3 separate regions of the Homo sapiens genome follow, and all the other regions are linked to region 2. The links are contacts of gene promoters, found by promoter capture Hi-C in blood cells and fetal thymus (Javierre and others, 2016). All regions are on one chromosome and are shown on one strand. Each heading gives the region's core, a stretch centred on a gene start or on the middle of the fragment in contact. The rest is flanking DNA. Distances are from core to core; before and after follow the strand shown. Region 1 overlaps GNAI3 (G protein subunit alpha i3). Region 2 holds the start of CSF1 (colony stimulating factor 1). Region 3 has its middle 7.0 kb from the start of GSTM4.

The links. The method cuts DNA at HindIII sites, captures the fragments that hold promoters and counts their contacts. A CHiCAGO score of 5 or more calls a contact.
Region 1: a contact is called between a fragment that was not itself captured here and the fragment with the promoter of CSF1 in region 2, in 1 of 17 cell types (erythroblasts). The highest score is 6.0, in erythroblasts.
Region 3: a fragment that was not itself captured here is called in contact with the fragment with the promoter of CSF1 in region 2 in 8 of 17 cell types (M1 macrophages, M0 macrophages, M2 macrophages and 5 more); the score reaches 14.7 in M1 macrophages.

The regions. Positions count from the first base shown.
Region 1 is chr1:109,585,255-109,588,795 of GRCh38, forward strand. GNAI3 (G protein subunit alpha i3) reads left to right here. Exons shown (of 9, transcript NM_006496.4): 6 at 962-1,091; 7 at 1,475-1,628. Among named protein-coding and RNA genes, the nearest start is that of MIR197, 12 kb to the right of the region's middle. The HindIII fragment of the contact is 1,211 bases long and covers 714-1,924 here.
Region 2 is chr1:109,908,938-109,912,502 of GRCh38, forward strand. It overlaps CSF1 (colony stimulating factor 1), which reads left to right and starts at 1,912. Exons shown (of 9, transcript NM_000757.6): 1 at 1,912-2,125. The coding sequence starts at 2,087. RefSeq lists silencers at 2,006-2,175, 2,226-2,335 and enhancers at 2,121-2,621, 2,622-3,122, 3,199-3,298. The HindIII fragment of the contact is 10,099 bases long and covers 1-3,228 here.
Region 3 is chr1:109,647,475-109,650,627 of GRCh38, forward strand. No RefSeq gene overlaps it. Among named protein-coding and RNA genes, the nearest start is that of GSTM4, 7.0 kb to the right of the region's middle. The HindIII fragment of the contact is 1,041 bases long and covers 1,384-2,424 here.

The sequences.
Region 1 (3,541 bases), core at 69-2,568, 320 kb before region 2:
CAGTGCAGATCTTTTTACTATAGGAGGTAGTTGAGGATGCTGTTGATAGAAGTTCAGCAGTTGACTCAGAATACCAAGTAAGTCACCCAGAAGACAGTATTGGACTAAAACTAATATGGAGTGTAACATAAAGTTTGTGAACAGTTGAGACTTTATTAATTAGGTTTAAGTAAGACTCGGAGTTTGGAAATATTGGTCAAGGCTGTTTTTTAGTTATTGGGTTCATAGAATCCTACCATAAAAATATAATTTATTTGTTTTTACAATTAATCTCTAATTTTTTTTTTAAGGTAAGGAAAACAAACTTAATAGGGAGAAGTTATGGAAGCAGAGTGCAAATAGGGCATTTAGAGGCAAACCATTTTGAGAGTCAGAACATGGGTGCTGGAGTTAGAGTGCCTAGGTTCAGATCCCCAGTCCCTGTTTGTTAGTAGTGTACCTTTGAGCAAATCATTTAACATTGAATGTGCCTCAATTTCTTTATCTGTATAATTGGGATAATAATAATAGTACTTCTAGGAGTGTTACAAGGGCAAAATGAGTTAAGATGTTTAGTAGTAGTGTCTGGCACCATGGTAAGCACTCAATAAATATACCATTATTATTATTATCTCAAACTGTTTTATTTAGCTCTTTGCTTTTCCTGTCTTTTCCCCTCCTTCCTTTAATCCATTTCAGTGCTTATTCTGCTGACTTTTCACACATCTGGTACAAGCTTTGATAGAGAAGAGGCTCAGCTATCTAAAATGAGAATCTAGATTATTCACAAGTTTTATTTTCTCATGTTGTTGTCTTGTACTTTTAGCCAGGATAATTATTTTGACTGCATTTAATCTATTCTTTTTCTTCTATTATAAATGAAGTTTTGAATATGTAATAGTGGGAAGTTTCCTAATCATTTCAGTTTAGGGGAAGGTGTATGTGTGACCTTGCTGAATTTGCTTTCTTTCCCCTTGCGCAGGATGTTTGATGTAGGTGGCCAAAGATCAGAACGAAAAAAGTGGATTCACTGTTTTGAGGGAGTGACAGCAATTATCTTCTGTGTGGCCCTCAGTGATTATGACCTTGTTCTGGCTGAGGACGAGGAGATGGTATGTTGGAGCTTCTGGTAAAAAGCCTGTCTAATGTAGCCAGGAAATGGAAAATAACTTATTAGGAAGATTATCTGCATCCATTTCCTCATTCAACCAAAACTTAGTATCTTTAATTTTTTTGATCTGTGCCCTATTACTCTAAAAAAGATGTTATAGCCACCTTGAGTATGTGGAAAGGATGTTAGCCAGCCCTTCCTCCTACCTCCTCTCCCCCAAAAATTACAAAAATGAGGACTGACACTCAACTTTATCTTATTGGTGTTTGACTTATTTCCGTGAATGCCATTTAGTGCTGCAAAACTTGTTGGTTTGTCTTTTTCATTAACTTAATCCACTTTTACTATTTGCTACTGACCTATCATCCTTTATTTCTTTTTCAGAACCGAATGCATGAAAGCATGAAACTGTTTGACAGCATTTGTAATAACAAATGGTTTACAGAAACTTCAATCATTCTCTTCCTTAACAAGAAAGACCTTTTTGAGGAAAAAATAAAGAGGAGTCCGTTAACTATCTGTTATCCAGAATACACAGGTAAGGGGTTATGAAAGATTTTATTGGAGGTACACATCTTACTTAGATCAACACTTTGGTGGCATTCATAAAACTGCCTTTTTTTTTTTAATGATTGATTGGGAGAGTATTCAGTGGTAGTGGCATTGGCATTAAGCCTGTGATTAAAAGCCCCTAAGTCAAGAGTGCCATATCAGACACAATTGAGTTTTCTGTGTTTATTTTAAATTTCTATCTTCATTTTTTGAGGAAAATACAAAAGGAGAAAAAGTAAATTTGGGAGCTGGGCATGGTGGCTATAATTCTAGCTACTTGGAAGCTTGAGGCAGGAGGATCATTTGAGCCCAAGAGTTTGAGATCAGTCTAGGCAACATAGTGACACCCCCCTGCCTCACAAAAAATAAAGTAAAATTTGGTATATGTTGAAGAAAATACAAGGGTAAATTTTAATCATTGTGCCCAAGAGACTGACATGTAGTTGCAGAGAGACATAAATAATTTTATTATAGTGTTTAATTGCACATAAATAATTTTATTATAGTGTAAAATATGCATTAATAGAAGTGGAATAGAAGTGGTTACTTCTGATGGGGTCACTGTAGTCTTTTTCTAGAGCTACTAAGAGGATGAAATAGAAATCATCAGGCAGACGGGAATAAAAGCATTTTAGAAAAGAGGAATTGCATATATGAGAATATGGAGGTAGGAAAATGGTATGACCAGTTGTGGAACCCAGAAGGAATTTGGTATTACTAGAGTTTACAGTGGCAGGGAAGAAGTGGTTGGAGAGATGGTCAGAGATCAACTCATGGAGGGCCTTATATCTCATGCTGAGACGATGATCAGTTAAAGGTTTAATATCCTACCATGATCCATATCATGGGGTGCATGATATAGAAGAAACTGTGCTTGAGAAAGATTATGCAATAAATAATAAAGATAGATAGTAGGGGATTTGAATTAGTAAGAACTCAGGATGGAAATAAAAACTTTTGATGGGGATTAAGGGATATATCATAGAACCCAAGGGCAAGAATGGACAGGTCTTAGAATGGAATTAGAACTAGGAAATAATTGTCAGGAACCCTGGAAGCACTCTTTATCCCCATCTTTTTTCTCTCCTCTCTGTGTATCTTTTTTATTATTCTTTCTTTCCTAACCAGCTTTCTCTGCTATTCAGTTTATGTGATAACAGCCTAGTCACAGTTTCTGTATCTCTGGTAAAAAGATCAGACTAGGCTGGGCGCGGTGGCTCACGCCTGTAATCCCAGCACTTTGGGAGGCCGAGGCGGGTGAATCATGAGGTTAGGAGATCGAGACCATCCTGGCTAACACAGTGAAACCCCGTCTCCACTAAAAATACAAAAAAAATTAGTTGGGCTTGGTGGCAGGCACCTGTAGTCCCAGCTACTCGGGAGGCTGAGGCAGGAGAATGGCATGAACCCGGGAGGCAGAGCTTGCAGTGAGCCGAGATCGCGCCACTGCACTCCAGCCTGGGCGACTGAGCAAAAAAAAAAAAAAGATCAGACTAGACTGGGATTGCTTGGCCTTGGTTTCAAATTCCAAGGAGAGAGATTCTGGCCGTGGTTAAGTCAGGCAGAAATCTGTAGGCCAATCAGTTGAGGTCAGGGGCACAAATGTAACTGCCAGGGATGGATCACTATGAAACTTATAGATCAGAATCAGGTATTTCCAGAGAAGGGGAACTCTTATTAGCAGAGACACTGTAAATGCTTTCTATAATAAAGTGAGGCTGGGTGCAGTGGCTCATGCCTGTAATCCCAGCACTTTGGGAGGCCGTGGCAGGTGGATCATGAGGTCAAGAGATCGAGACCATCCTGACCAATGTGGTGAAACCCTGTCTCTACTAAAAATAGAAAAATTAGCTGGGCATGGTGGTGTGCGCCTGTAATCCCAGCTACTCGGGAGGCTGA
Region 2 (3,565 bases), core at 662-3,161:
TGACTTGGCAGAGCTACCAAGGTCAAATCACTTGTAAGTAGTGGAGTCAGGTTCAAACCAGGGTATGTAAAGAACTCCAGTGCGGGGAATGAGGACCTCAGGCCTTGCACCAACGTGGAGAATGATTACGTTCCTCCAGAAGCTGAGCAAAGTCCAAATGCCAGCCTCAGTGAACCTGGGCCAGGGCTGGGTTGGTGAAGGAAGGAGCAAGTAAAACTGGACCCCTTTCTCAACAAGTCTGTTGGTTTATCTTTCTCAGGTTACTTCCTCTAACCTTTTATCAGTCTTAAGAACTGTGGTGTCAACATGTTATCTGAAATCATTATTGTACAGTGACCATGTCATTGTTGTATCCCCAGGGCCCAGCACGGTGCCTAGCATCTGGTAGCACATATTTGTCAAAAGAACAAAGTATTCTCTAATGGCATCATTCAACTCAGCCATCATTAACTTGGTACCTATTATGTGCTAGGTACCATTGATCCAGAGGTGACTGAGCATGGGTGCCACCTGGAAGAAGTCTCGGTCTAGGGTGGGGACAGAATGTAACCATCGGTACCACCTTAAACACTTCGAAAAGTACTGTGGAGAATGAATGGATGGCAAATGACTTATCAGAGCCAGCATTGAGGAATGAGCCAAGTCCAATGGGAACACAGGAAAAGGACCCTTTGCTCTGCCAGGAGAGTCACAGAAGGCTTTGCTGGTGGAGGATGAGATGCAATTTCAGCCTGAAATGATGAGGAGTTTGTCTTCAGCCATGTGGAGAAAGGAGCATTCCAGGCAGAGGGACCAGTCTGAGCAAAGGCATTCGGGTGTAAAATTATTGCCTAGGATTGGAGTGAAGGATATGTAGCGCTACTGACAAGAGACTCCTCTTCAAGAGCAGGCCACATATCCTTTATTTCCCAGGGGGTGGAAACGGGCAACCTCACAGAGGAATTGAATCATAATGAATTGAAGAAAGAAAAATCTCCTGAAGTTGGCATTATAATTAATAGGCTTAGGCTCATCCTACTAGTCCTCACTTAGACTCATTCTCATGTAGAAACAAAACGTGATTAATCACCTCAGTAAGTGCAATTTCCAAAAACATCCAGGGAAATCTAGGGTCCAGGTGCAGGACCTTTCCAATCTGAGTTGGATTTTGCCTCCAGGAGAGAGCATGGGTACCAGCCAGCATTTTCATCATCTAAGGGTCAGGTGCCTTGAAGTGTCTGCTGGCACCCAGGGAAGAGCCCCCCAGCTTGCTGTCACAGGACACAGCTGCTCCCTTCCTGGCCAGGTAGCTGGCCTCCCTCCCAGAATGGGACTTGAAGCTGGCCGGGCTGCTTGGGGGCTGCAGAGGAAGAAGGGGGCTGCCGGCAAACCTGCTGACTCAGGCTCCACGAGGGAGCAAGTAACACTGGACTCCTTTCGGCACTCCGAGAATGGGGTGGGGGCGTCTTCAAAGGATTTCCCTCCCTTCCCAGTGCTTGTCCCTGCTCTCGGTCCGTTTTCTGCTAAGATTTGGGGATTTTCAGGCCTGGAGGGAAAGTCCCTTGGGACGATCATAGAGCGCTAGCACTGAATCAGCCTGGAGAGCGCGGAAGGAAAGGGTCGGTCCGCAGAGGGCGCGGGGAAGGCAGGGTGGGGACGCGGTGGAGCCCGCGCTCGTTTGCTGAAGGCTTGGAAGTGCAGCGCAGAAGACAGAGGGTGACTAGGAAGACGCGCGAGCGGGGCTGGCCGGCCGGCGGGTGGGGGAGGGGAGGCGGGGGAAGGCGGCTGAGTGGGCCTCTGGAGTGTGTGTGTCTGTGTCAGTGTGTGTGTGTGTGTGTGTATGTGTGTGTCTGGCGCCTGGCCAGGGTGATTTCCCATAAACCACATGCCCCCCAGTCCTCTCTTAAAAGGCTGTGCCGAGGGCTGGCCAGTGAGGCTCGGCCCGGGGAAAGTGAAAGTTTGCCTGGGTCCTCTCGGCGCCAGAGCCGCTCTCCGCATCCCAGGACAGCGGTGCGGCCCTCGGCCGGGGCGCCCACTCCGCAGCAGCCAGCGAGCGAGCGAGCGAGCGAGGGCGGCCGACGCGCCCGGCCGGGACCCAGCTGCCCGTATGACCGCGCCGGGCGCCGCCGGGCGCTGCCCTCCCACGGTAAGCGACGGCCGCGGCGCTGGGCCCGGGACGGGCTGGGGCGGGGGCTCGGCGGCCAGGCGGCCGGGAGCGGCCCCTCGGAGCCGACAGCCTGGGCGCGCCGGCTGCACTGGCCCGGCGTTCCCGCCGCGGACGAACCGCCTTTGCGCACGGACTGGGCCCTGGCGCCAGGGCGGAGGCCGGTGGCGGCCCTGCAGCTGCACCGGGACTGCCAGGCTTCCCTGGGAAACGGAGGGCTGCTCACCCCATTGCACGGAGGGGAACACTGAGCCACCTGCAGGCAGGAGCCCCCGCTCAGCCAGGGTGCCCTGCCTCTCTCCCTACCCGCCACCACCAAGGCACGGGCGGAGTGGCTGTGCGCTGAGTGTGTGCCCTCCCCGGTGGGCACCTTCCTCATCGGCCACACACGTGCTTCCAAGGCCCTGCTGAGGAGTGGGCGCTTCTGGGCAGGGAAAGTTCAGGGGGTCAACCAGCTTATAGAACGCCAGGGACTTGCTGGCAGAGGGACGGAGAGGGGCAAGCCACTGCTTGTTCCAGCCCACAGGCAGGAGCTACGGAGGACTTGGGTGGCTGTTTGGGGGGTGGGGTGGGGGACGGCAACAGCCGGCAAACAGCCCCCCACCCCCGGGGCTGCTTGGGGCTAGCTCAGAATCTCTTTTTCTTGCAAATTCTGGTTTCATCGGTTGGGGAGATTCTGGGCTTTGTGGTGGTTTATGGTGGTTTGCAGTGCTTGAGGAAAATGGAAAGAGGGTTTGGTGTTGCAGAGCTGTGTCCAGGGGCAGGGTCTGCTCCTGACTGCGTAAGGGACGCCCTGCCCCAACTGTGGCGGTAGCAGATGCAGCCATAGAAAGTGAGGGTGGCACTGTTCATGACCAGTCAGTGGGCTCATAATAGATTTGCTTCTGAGGAGTCCTGGAAGAAAATGAGAGGGGAAACCTGGGGGGAAAAGAGCAGAAAATTATTTGGGGGTAGAGGAGAGCGGGCTGCAGGTGAGGTGAGAGAGAAAGGGAAGAGTGGGTCCACAGAAAGAAAGTGCCTCACTGAGAGAGAGGAGATAGAGTTGAGAGGGGAAGGGAGAAGGGTTAGCCATAGGCAGAAAGCAAAGCTTCGGGGCTGAAGGGGAGACCATGAGGAAAGAAGAGAAAGACAAGGGGGCTGTGTTTAGACAGGGGAAGTCCAAGGGCCCGGTTCTGCCAGGTCTCTCCAGAGGCCTTGTTGAGGGGGAAGATGAAATGGAATAGGATAGGTGGCAGAGGAGGCTGGACAGCTGGACTGAGGTGTCCTAGCATCTCTGAGCCTGCAGCAGAGATTCCTTCTGAGGGCTGCTCCCCAGGCAGAAGCCAGGGCTAGGGGTGGGAGGAAGAGGCAGTCAGAGGAGAGCCTGCCCAGCCAGATGCAAGCCAGAGTGTTAACCCCCCACTGTCTGTCCAGATCCTCCTG
Region 3 (3,153 bases), core at 654-3,153, 260 kb before region 2:
GTACTATGTTGACTAGAAGTGGCAAGAGCGGGTATTCTTTGCCTTGTTCCTGATCTTACAGACAAAGCTTTCAGTTTTTCATTGTTGAGTATAATGTTAGCTGTGAGCTTGTCATATATGGTCTTTATTTTGTCAAGGAAAATTCCTTTTATACCTAGTTTGTTGAGAGTTTTTACTATGAAAAGATGTTGAATTTTGTCAAATGCTTTTTCTGCATCTATTGAGATGATCATTTGATGTTTATCCTTCATTTTGTTAACGTGGTGTGTCACATTAATTGTTTTACATATGATGAGCCATCCTTGCAAAGGACTTGAATAGACATTTCTCAAAAGAAAGCATACAAATGGCCAACAGGTATATGAAAAGATGCTCAACATCACTAATCATAAGAGAAATGCAAATCAAAACCACAATGAAATATCACTTCACACCTGTTAGAGTGGCTATTGTCAAAAAAAAAAAAAAAAAAAAAAAAAAAAAAGGTAAAGAAAGTGAGACAAGCTCCCAACTGGTAACAAGTGCTGTTGAGGAGAAATTGGAACTTTTGTACACGGTTGGTGGGAAAGTAAAATTGTGCAGCCACTGTGGAAAACAATATAGAGGTTCATAAAAGAATGAAAAATAGAACTACCAAATGATCCAGCAATCCCACTTCTGGGTATATATTCAAAAGAACTGAAGGATCCCAAAGAGATATTAGCAGTCCTTTGTTCATTGTAGCATTATTCACAATATCCAAGACATGAAAATGACCTAACTATTCATCAACAGATGAATGAATAAAGAAAATTTGGTATGTACATTCAGTGAAATATTAATCAGTCTTAAAAAGAAGGAAATTCTGCAATATATAACACTATGGATGAACCTGGAGGACATTATGCTAAGTGAAATTAGCTCGTCACAGAAGAACAAATACTGCATGATTCCACTGACATGGGGTATCCAAAATAGGCCAACTCATAGAAACAAAGTAGAATGACGGTTTTCAGGGGATCGGGAGAGGAGGAAATTAAAACCAATCCAACTGTCCAGAGACAGTTTTTGTTTTGTTTTGTTTTGTTTTGTTTTGAGACGGAGTCTCGCTCTGTCGCTCACGCTGGAGTGCAGTGGCGCGATCTCGGCTCACTGCAAGCTCCGCCTCCCGGGTTCACGCCATTCTCCTGCCCCAGCCTCCCAAGTAGCTGGGACTACAGGCGCCCGCCACCACGCCCGGCTAATTTTTCGTGCTTTTAGTAGAGACGGGGTTTCACCGTGTTAGCCAGGATGGTCTCGATCTCCTGATCTCGTGATCCGCCCGCCTCGGCCTCCCAAAGTGCTGGGATTACAGGCGTGAGCCACCGCGCCTGGACATAGACAGTTTTTAAAAAATAAACTTAAAGCTTGAAACTCACCAGATCCAGACAATTAAATACCAGGCCTCTCAGAAGGTATCAAAGAACGGAAACTCACCAGATCATCACATCCAGACAATGAGATGCCAGGCCCCTCATTCATCATGATTGCTTCCTTAGCCCTTCAGAATTCCTGTTTTCCCATACATTGTTACATTTTTTTCTCTGCTATATAAACCCCTAATTTTAGCCAGTCAGGGAGATGGATTTGAGACTGATCTCTCATCTCCCCTACTGCAGCACTCTATTAAAGCCTTCTTCCTTGGCAGTAATCATCTCAGCCGTTGGCTATCTGTGCAGCAAACAGCAGGACTCAGACTGAATCCCTGGTGTTTCGGTAACAAAATGGAGAGTTGCTATTCAAGAGGTATAAAGTTTCAGTTATACAAGATAAACATATTCTAGATATCTGCTATACAACACCGTGCTCATAGTTAACAATACTGTGTACCTGTTTACTTAAAAATTTGTTAAGAGAGTATGCGGCAGGAGAATAGGGTCTGGAGGCAGGGAACCTAAGGCTGATTCACACTGAATTTCTAGAGCTAAATCGAAAGGAAAATCCCAACTTTCCATGCCTAAGTAACAAAAGGACCAGAAGCTACTCCCTTTGCAAACCCCCTGCTTTTCTGCTCTGCAGATGGAAAATGGACAGTTCCTCTGATTGGTTGCTTTCTGCAGCCAATCAGATATTTGCATAGAAGTGTAACTTTGTAACTTCACTTCAGCCTCTGATTGTGGACCACTATTCATTTGCATGGGGTGAACACCAAGTGGCCAATGGCAAACTTCTAGGAGGTATTTGGACCCCAAAAGATTCTGAATCCGGGCTCTTGAGCCCCTATGCTTGGCCTGCTCCCACCCTGTGGAGTGTACTTTCATTTTCAATAAATGAAAATTTGTTTGCTCCTTGTTTTGTTTGTGCGTTCTGTCCAGTTCTTTGTTCAAAATGCGAAGAACCTGAACGCCCTCCACTGGTAACAAGCAGATCTCATTTTAAGTGTTTTTATTACAACTTAAAAAAGAAAGCTTTAATTTGTTACCTATTTGTATATTTATATATCTGTGTATGCCTAAATGCATACAAATAAAGGAATATTAATAGAGCCTTTATTATAATCTATTAGAAAATTATGTACCAAAGGAGTAAAATTAGGATTTGGCTCTGTCATGTAAAATGACTCAGTTGTTTTGCACCCAGATTACTAGAGGTTATTTTTTTTCACCAAATTATTCTGTTAACTCTCAGTGTTTTTCACATGCTCTTAAAACATCTTGTTAGAAATTCCCTTGGATAGCCCTGACCTGATTTTATTTGTTCATATTTTAAAATGCTATCACAGACCTAAATTCACCCTTAAAGTAGAGACCACTCCAGAAATTAAATCAGCTCCAATGACTGAAATAATTGCCTGCATCTGGGTCTGCTGGCTGCTAAAGTGTAAAAGAGTAAGCATATACACTAATGGCAGATGCACTTTTGGGGAGTCTGTGAATTGGGAATGCTTTGGAAATGAAGAGTTTTCTAACCTCCACAAAAATCTGCAAAAATTGGATGACGGATTAAAAATAAAACTTTCAGCTGCTTTGCTGTTACCTGAGGAAATAGCTGTAATAAAAGTAGACCACCATTCAATGCACAAAGACCCAGAATTTCTAGTAATACTTTAGCTGGCCACCATGCTAACCCCAGTAGCGTCACCAAGATCAATGCTCCTGCAAATCACACAGAAAAGAGGGGTCTTGGAGGATTCAA